Linked DNA regions of Homo sapiens: regions 2 and 3 are each linked to region 1. Evidence: promoter capture Hi-C in human tissues and cell types (Jung and others, 2019). All regions are on one chromosome and are shown on one strand. Each heading gives the region's core, a stretch centred on a gene start or on the middle of the fragment in contact. The rest is flanking DNA. Distances are from core to core; before and after follow the strand shown.

Region 1 (2,934 bases), core at 122-2,621:
TGCGGTGCTCGGAGGGGGTCCGGGGGGCGCTGACCATGGTCCTGGCCTCGGAGCTCGGGACGTGAGCGCAGAAGGCGCGGGCGGAGGCTGTAGGGAGCGGCCGTCCGAACCCCCGCCCCTCCCGACCACCGGGGAGCCGCGGGCCTTCACGCAAAGCCTCCACCGCACGCTCTGAGCCGCTCAAAAAAAGGGTGGGGCACCCAGCCGCAGCTGCAATCGGAAGCCGCCCGGGAGGGTTTCAGAAGAATGGAACCGCGGCCAACCCCCTCCCAGACGACCACCGCCCGCCCCAGCAGGGGATCAGCCCATTCCCTATGCCCACGCCCCACCTCTCAAGCTCAAGGAGACGCGGGCAGCCTTTGTGGGCGCACGGCCGCCCACCGCCCAGCCCGAGCCTCGCCGCACCCTGCGCGGAGAAGGGGCGGGTAGGGCGGGGTGCGCGTGCAGATGCGGGAGGCGAGGTCCAGGGCGGGGCATGAAGGCGGGCGCGCCGGGCTCAGGGGCGAGGGAGGGGCGATCCCCGCGCCCCGTCCTCCGTCTCCACCCCCAACCCCCACACCGACCTGGTCGTTGATGTTCTGCAGGGCTTCTTTGCCCGAGGCCCTCCGGATCTCCACCTTCCGGCCCGATTCAACAGATGGCTCTCCGCCGGCGCGCCGGCCCTGCCGCGAGTACGGCGGCTGCGGGTCCGGGCCCAAGTGGGCGACGTCCCGCTGCTGAGCCACCACCTGCCCCGAGCCCCGGCCCACCGACAGCGAGTCGAAGTCGATGGTCTTGTTCTCCGAGGACCCTTCCACCGGGCAGAACATGCCACAGAATTTCTGCCGGGGCTTGGGGCTGCCGGAGCCCAGGTTTTTAAAAAAAGCAGGGACCTCTTCGTCCTCTGCCGCCTTCCCGGATTGCTTTCTCTCGGCCATGGCTCGGGGGCTCGGGTAGGGTCCTCGCCGTCCGTCCGTCCGTCTGCCAGTCCCTAAGTCTCCCTCGCTGTGTGCACAAGCCCCCTAGCTGCTGCCGCGGCTGCCGTTCGCCGCCCACCGCAAGGTGCACAGAAAGGAAGGAGGGCTGGCGAGCCGGCGACCCACCCTCCCGGTCCCTCCCCCTGACCCCGCTTCTCCCCTCCCTGCCCACGCCCCCCGCGGCTACAGCGCGAGCTCGGGGAAGCGGCAAAGTTGGATCTGGGAGGGCGTCCGCTGCGGCTGCGGGAGCCGAAAGGCTGCCAGTTCCCGGCAGCGCTGGGAGGAGGGAGGCGCGGGCGGGGCGCGGCGCCGGGGAGGGGAGCGGTGCTCAGGGGAGGGCTGGAGGGGAGGGAAGGAGAGAGAGAGGGGAGGGCGGCACCGCCCCTAGCCCCGCGCTCCGGAAGTGAAGCGGCCAGACCACCAGCTAATGGATGCGGAGCGGAGGGCCCGCTGACCGCTCTCCGCGCCTGGGTAAGTATCGGGCAGGGCACGCGGAGTGAGGACCGGAGGACGCAGCCCCCAGCCCCAGTGCCCCTCTCCTCCACCTGCCTGGCCCAGGCGCCTCTGCCCCGCCGCATGGCGGAGGTGGGCCGGGGGCGAGGGCGCACTGTGGATAGGGGTCCCGCCCCGTTACCCTGGGTGTGAGCTGATGGATGGGAAAAGGGGACAAGCCGGGCGCCAGGCTACTCAGGGTGTGGGAAGCGGGATGGCACTGAAGATGAGCAAGGATAGCACAGGCAGGGTGGACAGGAGGGGGGCAGCCAAGACGCTGGACACCCCAGCTTCAGTTTGTCCACTCGCCTTGGCAGGCTGCAGGGAGCAGAGACTGAAACGAGAAGGTTCCCGCTTCGTGCATCCACTTTGGTGTGGTTGGGGTGACGGGGGAGTGGGGGGGGGGCACACAACATGGCGGGAAGAAATTCAGAGGGGCGTAGCAGATGGGAGAGGAATATAGAGAGAGACGCAGGTCTGCGGTCTATGGGGGTGTAGCAAAGAGTGCAGTCGGGAATTCCAGCCCAGGGCCACGACTTAAAGACGGGGTGCAGACCGACTCTATTGCGCAAGGCGCCATGGACCGTGTCTGCGCCACTGCGCCAAGAAGGGCGCAGGAACGTGTCGCGATTTGGTTTATTCTGCTTCCTCCACCAAAAAAAAAAAAAAAAAAAAAAAAAGAGAGAAAAAACAAACTGAAACCCCCTTCCCAAATCTCCAGCTTTCCCCTGCGCCCCAGAGCCCCGCCTGGTTCCCCCGCCCCTGTTGCGCACTGCGCCACAGTCGCAGCGTTTCCCGGGTTACCAGATGCCACGTGTTTGGGGAGTAAGTGCGGGTGCGCATCTGGTGCGGAGTAGGAGGTAGGATGTGGGCTGTGAGTGCCATGAATTGTGTGGGGCCAAGCAGGGGAAAGGTGTGTAGGAACTTGGTGTGTGTGTGCAGTAGCTGAGCCACGGCCACCGGGTTGGTAAGTAACCAGGGGGCAATTAGATTTGTGTGCCTAACACGGTCAATGCTGGTCCTTCATTGCTTATTCCCATCTCCACGTCCTTTCCGCGTATCAGTCCCTGCCTCTGCGCGATGACAGCTCCGCCTCTCTTTCCACAGTGGCAAAATCCTGCAGAAATGGTGCCCCTCCTTTGGTGGCCCGGGAGGGAGTTCTGGGCATGCTCAGTAACCAGGGTGGGTTTGGGCTGAGAGGCCGTTTACCGCAGGGCCACCGCGTAGGGCCGTGTAACCAGGGATCCAGTCCCATTGTCAGCCCAGGATTAAATGCGGTTACCAACCACCCCCACAGTCCAATTGTGAGAGATAGTTTGGTGAATATAGTTACATCTGCTGGACAATCAGTCGCAATTTGAAGATCAGCCCATCTTGATAGGTGGAAAGGCGTCTCCGGATGAGAAACAGACTGGGGAAGAAGAATATAGGAGTGGAGGGGCTGAGAGAACCGGAGGGGGCATTTTGGACTTAGCGGCAGATGTGC
Region 2 (2,934 bases), core at 125-2,624, 120 kb after region 1:
TGGCAATTCAGATGATGTGAGTTTTGAAGACACTCCTCAATGGTAAAGCGTGTTAGTAGGCTATCCCAGAAGACTCGAGTTCTAGCCATTCTCTGAAAGATGACCACTAATCTAGGGCCTGGAGAGACATAAGATGAGGGGTACGAAAGTGTTCAAAAGCATTTGCCATGCCTCCTCATGGCAACCTAAACTTAAACATGATCATAGGAGGGTGAAGGCATATTCAGTCACACGTAAAACTGCACCATAAATGAAGTAAGATGAACAGACAGGTAAGCAGGTGACTGTTCTCTGCTCATTGACAGCACCATGTGAACAACAGGCTCATGGACACCATGGTATCAATGATCAAGGCCCACACACCTGAACGCAGAGTGAAAGCCTTGTTGACAGGCCATAACAAGCAGAAAACTTGAGAAACCCATCAGCAAGTTCCATAATATAAATATAAATCTTCATTCGGAAAGACAGACTAATGCTGTAGCTACTGGAATCAAGGGCAAGCTGTTCAGAAGAGAGCCATCTGCTCTGGTTCCGCTTATGACAAGAGCCATCCCAGGCTCTAAGAAGCACAGGGACAAGTCAGGGATGACACGGGGGTGGCGGGGGTGCACAGTGTGCCACAGAGCCAACAAACCAGTCCCCCGCTGCCTTGGCAACATTAGTGGATCATAAGCCACTCAGGAAGTTGGACATGATTTAACTCATTTCTCCTTTTTTTCACTTCTTCTGATAAGTAATAATATGTGCAATATACACAATTTTTACAAAATACAAAAATGTTAAGAAGAAACATATCCATACTGCATTCCTAAAAATAGTCACTGTTTACATTTCCTTAATCTGCTTCCCGTGCATTTGCATTTTCTAAATGGTTAACATCAGTTAACAACCACCCAGAAGGTCATCCAGTGCCCCATAATGCTAACAGTGTAGCTGTCACTGAAACAAGAATTTCTTAAATGTCATTTAATATCTAGCCCTTCTGAAAAAAAAAAAAAAAAACAGAAAAGTTTATACTAAAAAATAATGACCTGGTTTCATTCCACACACATATCTCGTTGTATTCTTACTCTTTCACCATAAGCAGTCCTTAATCCATGTAATTAGTTTCTTCAGCTCAAATATAGAAAAATGAGGTCTGAAACAAAACATCCCCTGAGAAAGCAGAGGAGACTTCAAAACTATCTTTACAGACCTTGGTTGGTGCTTCCAACTGTGCAAATATTGCTATAACGTGAAGCAACCTGCAGTTCCTATGAATCAAACATTTACTGAGTGTCTACTACGTGCCAGCACCATTACTGTGAAGGTAATAAAAATTAAACATGGCCCCTGCCCTTTGCAACGTCAACATCTAGAAGGGAAGACACATATATACAGAGGTAACTAATTCAAGAACAGTCTGTGATCTGTAACACAGGGACACAAAGGAAAATGGGGGAAAGTCAGATTAATTCTATAAATTAGCATTTATGCCACTGAATTTTAAACTGATAAACTGCTAGAAACAATATAATCTGGGTAAGAAAAATGACAATCTGGGGAAAAACAGTGGGCACTGAAGCACCTGTCAATTAGCTGTCTCATATAAACACAATATATATCTGTGCAATATATATTATACTACAATATATCAGGAGGCATATTTTGCTAAGTGAAGATTTAAGCAAACAGATTTTTCCTAGAGTGAATGAGCCCTGTAACCCACCTGTTTCCTGAATTCCACCAAAACATGGGTCTCACTTACCTGTCACAGTGAGAACTGCCTCTGGAACTACTCTGTCCTGATTCATGTTGTGCATCCAAAAGAATCTTCTCCATGTCTCCATTGTGGATGGAGGATGAGGATGGTACGTGTTCCAGCCCCCCATTTTTCCCATTGCCATTATCATTGCCATTGCTGCTGTTCATGGGTAGCTCCACCCAGGAACCTGTTGGACAAGTCAGATAAGTTAACCACAGCAGAACTGAAATCTGTCATGTGCACACAGATGTGAACATGGTGAATCCAGATAAGAATTCTGACTCTCCTCAAACCAAATGTAAAAGTATTCTGAAGAAAATAAATAAGAAGTAATAAAAGTCTAAAGATCTATATAGTTCTGTTCCTGAAATAGCTCATGCCATCAACTGAGAAACAGCTCAAACTCTAAAACATCTCAGAAAACGTGTTTTTCAGTCAATTTCTCTCTGGGTAAAGCTTGGTTTATAATAACACTCTACTGAAAACTCAGGTTGCTTTTCAAAAAAAAATTGCTACTTTTAGGCTATTTACCTTTAACATTTTAGTTGGTGTATATATACACACACACTTTCTTCATAGTCTACCTAAGCTGCTCAGCTGTATCTGCTCCAGAAATGAAATAAATATATCACCTACAAATTTCATAAAAGGTCATCTAAGTAAGTTAGCAACTATATCCTACTTAGTGCAAACAACTGAGAAACTCCTAGAGAGGGAACCTAAATCCAATAGCAAAAATTTCAATTTGTGCACAAATCAGGAGCATAAAATTAATGCAGCTGGTTAACTAAATCAGGTAATAATGCTAAAAATTCAGAAAAAAGCTTTATCTCTATCTCACTGATTAGTTTCTTCATTTCCTTTGTATCTCAGGCTTTCTAGTCCTTCTCCTTTTTTATACACTAAACATACCTTGTGAACTTGTCTTTTTTCTTTTCTCTCCCACGGGTTTCTACTTTCTAGGGTTTTCATTAAACCCTGTTGATTTGGGAGCAGAAACAACTGCACATCAGCTACAGGCAAACACGAAAAGTTTTCTTGGACAAAAAGTTGAAGGGGTGGAGCCACAGAAAAAGGGGATGTGCCACTGGTAATTCTGCATACATCTTGAAAATATTTATTGGTCTGATGAGTTTGCTAAACGTATTAAGGTGCTTTAATTTTAACAAGAGTTGAGGCCAGGTACA
Region 3 (2,934 bases), core at 283-2,782, 100 kb after region 1:
TGAAGCTCAAAGCATCATGTCGCCCAGGCTGTGAAGCAGCAGAGCCCAGTCCACCTGCCTGGTGCTTCTGGCTGCACTGGGGAATGAAGGCAGGAGCCATTGTAAGGCTTTGAGGATTTCAGCATTAGTTCCCGTCTCCTTCCAGAGGAGATACTGATGGGAAACAGCTCTGTCTTCCTTCAGCATCGACCACCGCCTCCTCCTCAAACATGGAGAAAGTGGAGCCACCAGACAGGGGTTTCATCACTTTCCATTTCTAACTCACCCCTTCTCATGTCTTCATTTCCTGTCATCAATGTCTGGGTTTTGTAAACTCCACCTTTCTAAGGCTCACCCTCCCTGAGTGCTTAATTACATTTCCTTCCTCTCCGGGAGGGAGTACGTCCCACTCTTCCATTACTGATCTGCTCCCTCCGTAACGCTAATATCTCCCTTTGCTCTCTCTCCTTAGCCTACACATTGGCCCCTCTATATTCCCAACCTAAGCCAACAATCCTACTATCCTGTCTCCTCTTCAGAAACTCCCCCCTTGTTTTCTTAATCATGAAGTTTATTCAAAAAAGCCAACACTTCTTGCTATTCATTCATTGACCCAACACAATCTTATCCAGGATCCCTCTTTCACTCCTACAGAAAATGCTCTTGCAAAGATCAGCACAGATCTGACTGCCATATTCCAAAGCTTCTCGATTCATCTTACTTAACCACGAAACATGTCAGGCTTGGTCACCTCCTACTTTTGGGGTTTCTGTGATACCAACAATTTCACCTAGAACTTCTCTTCTGCTTAGCCTTCAAATTTTGGGCTTCCCTGTTGTTTGAGTAACTTTCTTCCTTGCCCATTGTCCAATCTTTAAACATCATATAAATATATAATGCATGGGTCTGATTGTGTTTTACTTCCACTCCAGACCCTTCTCCTGGGTTATAGTTCTATTTAATAAGTGTCCAATCAGAAGGCCCTCAGACATTTCATGTTCAACGCACTCAAAACTGAAATCCTCCCTCTTTGCTCCTACCACCCCATTTCTTCTCCTGTCCTCCTTTAACTAATGGGATCAACCCATGTTTTCGGGCCACACACACAAAGGAATACACACGCCTTCGTCTCTAAGTCACTTTCTGACCAGTTTACTTCCGCTTTGTTTCTCATACGTATCCTGGCCCACCACTGCCAACCTCAGGGTGACAGCCCAGGACAGGCCCTAGCTCCTCGCCTAGAGAACTGATTGATCTCCTCTGGTACTCTCTCACCAGATGGCTTGACTGTCTAAAATTTACATCTTAAATCACCTCCTGGTTTAAAAGAAGTAAACCCAGCTAACTATATGATGAAGTGTGACCCCTGGGAGGGCACACACATTTCAATTAGGTTCAGTACTAACCTACATTTTTCAGTTTCCTCTGTATCCATCCTGTTTTCCAGGCACGTGGAACTTCCAGTTCCTTCTGGATCCACTTTCACTGGTGTCCCACTGTCATTTCCATCAGGGCACACTCTTCTTCTCTCCTGTACTTCCTGAGCACTCCTCCCGTGAGCGCCCTCCTGCCACTACCTGGAGGCAAATGCTCTGAATGCCACAGTCCCGAGGCACTCACGAATGCTCACACTGCGGTGACTGTCCCCACAGAACACCGTTCACACCCTGAGCACTGTTAGGAACTCCACTGCTGGGGAAGCCAGATGACTGGAAGGCTGTGTGTAGGCGAGGAGGCCTCATCGCCTGAAACTCCCAGGCAACAGGTGCGACAGAAAAATGATATACTGACAGGAAAAGTTTTGTGAGAGCTTTAATGGCACAAAATGTTTATAGCTACAAGTTATACATGTATTGTAAACTGTATATAACGATACAAAGTGCTAACTAAAATAGATGAAGAATGCATAATCACTTTGGCTCAGTTAATTCCAATAATTTCCACAACGGGTTCATGAAAAAACTTATCTGACTGGCTAAGTCTTCAATTCTCATTTTTTTAGAATAGTAAATATTTTTACTGCAATCACGGGAACTTGTTGCACTTTCCAATGTGCAAGTTTGTGCAGTTTTGCTCTTGATTCTATTTACAAACATCTTGAGCCAGTTTTCATCAAACATATGAAAAATGAAGCCTGCCTTTTTGTCCCCAAATTGTAAACAGGTGTAAAGCTTTTTAAACATTAACCTCACAATTTCAACTATTAATTGTTGAATTCTCCTTTCCAAACCACAATGTTTTCGTTCAACACAAATCTGGGTGTAGCAGTAAAACGTTCATCCCATGTGTTAGGGCTACAGATACATACTACATGCTCTCATAATAAATTCTACTGTGATGATGTATTCACGTTTTAAGTAATTTTCCATAATTTCACTGATGCTTTAAGAAAAAGGGCAACACTATGTTTCTTTTTAACGCTGAAAGAAATCATAAATATACCCAGTTTCAGTGGCACCACTGATAGAACTGCTGCTGAACTTGGAAAGAGCACAATGCACTAGCTGTAAGAAGTCACTTTCAGGTAAAGTGTAATTTTACTTTTCCCCCCTGTAATACCAATTGTAATAGAAATTGCATACTGTAGCAGTTTAGCTAGTCAGTTCTCCTAACTTTCCAGTCTTTCCAATTTTATTCAGGCTTTTCAAAAATCAGTGAGCCATCAGATTTACTTTCTTCCCAAAGAAATTCAAATATGAACACTTGAAATAAATAGGTTATAGAAGGCAAATCAAGTGTTACCAGGTTTAAGAGTAAGACAGAAACATGGTCTAGGAAAAAGATGTCCAAAATTATTTAGACATCAAATGCTAGAAAGAAAAAAGAAAATTACTTTCAAAACTAGGATATATCATCTTTCTTAAAGATAGCCAGCTATATTCTTGAAAAAAGATAAAAATTTTGTTTAATCTATATGTTATTTTCCACTATAACACATCAATTTTACAAATGTTG

What was found. Contacts are between HindIII fragments. The study calls those that stand out against the background at their distance.
Region 2: a fragment that was not itself captured here is called in contact with the fragment with the promoter of PNMA2 in region 1 in 4 of the 25 tissues and cell types used here (dorsolateral prefrontal cortex, hippocampus, liver and 1 more).
Region 3: a fragment that was not itself captured here is called in contact with the fragment with the promoter of PNMA2 in region 1 in 4 of the 25 tissues and cell types used here (IMR-90 fibroblasts, aorta, dorsolateral prefrontal cortex and 1 more).

What each region holds. Positions count from the first base shown.
Region 1 is chr8:26,512,309-26,515,242 of GRCh38, reverse strand. PNMA2 (PNMA family member 2) reads left to right here and starts at 1,371. Exons shown (of 3, transcript NM_007257.6): 1 at 1,371-1,427. DPYSL2 (dihydropyrimidinase like 2) reads right to left here and starts at 1,212. Exons shown (of 14, transcript NM_001197293.3): 1 at 564-1,212. The coding sequence starts at 917. RefSeq lists enhancers at 2,257-2,934, 2,916-2,934. The HindIII fragment of the contact is 13,621 bases long and covers 1-2,934 here.
Region 2 is chr8:26,390,243-26,393,176 of GRCh38, reverse strand. It overlaps BNIP3L (BCL2 interacting protein 3 like), which reads right to left. Exons shown (of 6, transcript NM_004331.3): 2 at 1,751-1,934. Among named protein-coding and RNA genes, the nearest start is that of BNIP3L, 8.7 kb to the right of the region's middle. RefSeq lists a cis regulatory region at 1,938-1,955 and an enhancer at 1,874-2,018. The HindIII fragment of the contact is 4,436 bases long and covers 1-2,934 here.
Region 3 is chr8:26,411,969-26,414,902 of GRCh38, reverse strand. BNIP3L (BCL2 interacting protein 3 like) reads right to left here. Exons shown (of 6, transcript NM_004331.3): 6 at 1,776-2,934. Among named protein-coding and RNA genes, the nearest start is that of BNIP3L, 30 kb to the right of the region's middle. The HindIII fragment of the contact is 4,202 bases long and covers 1-2,934 here.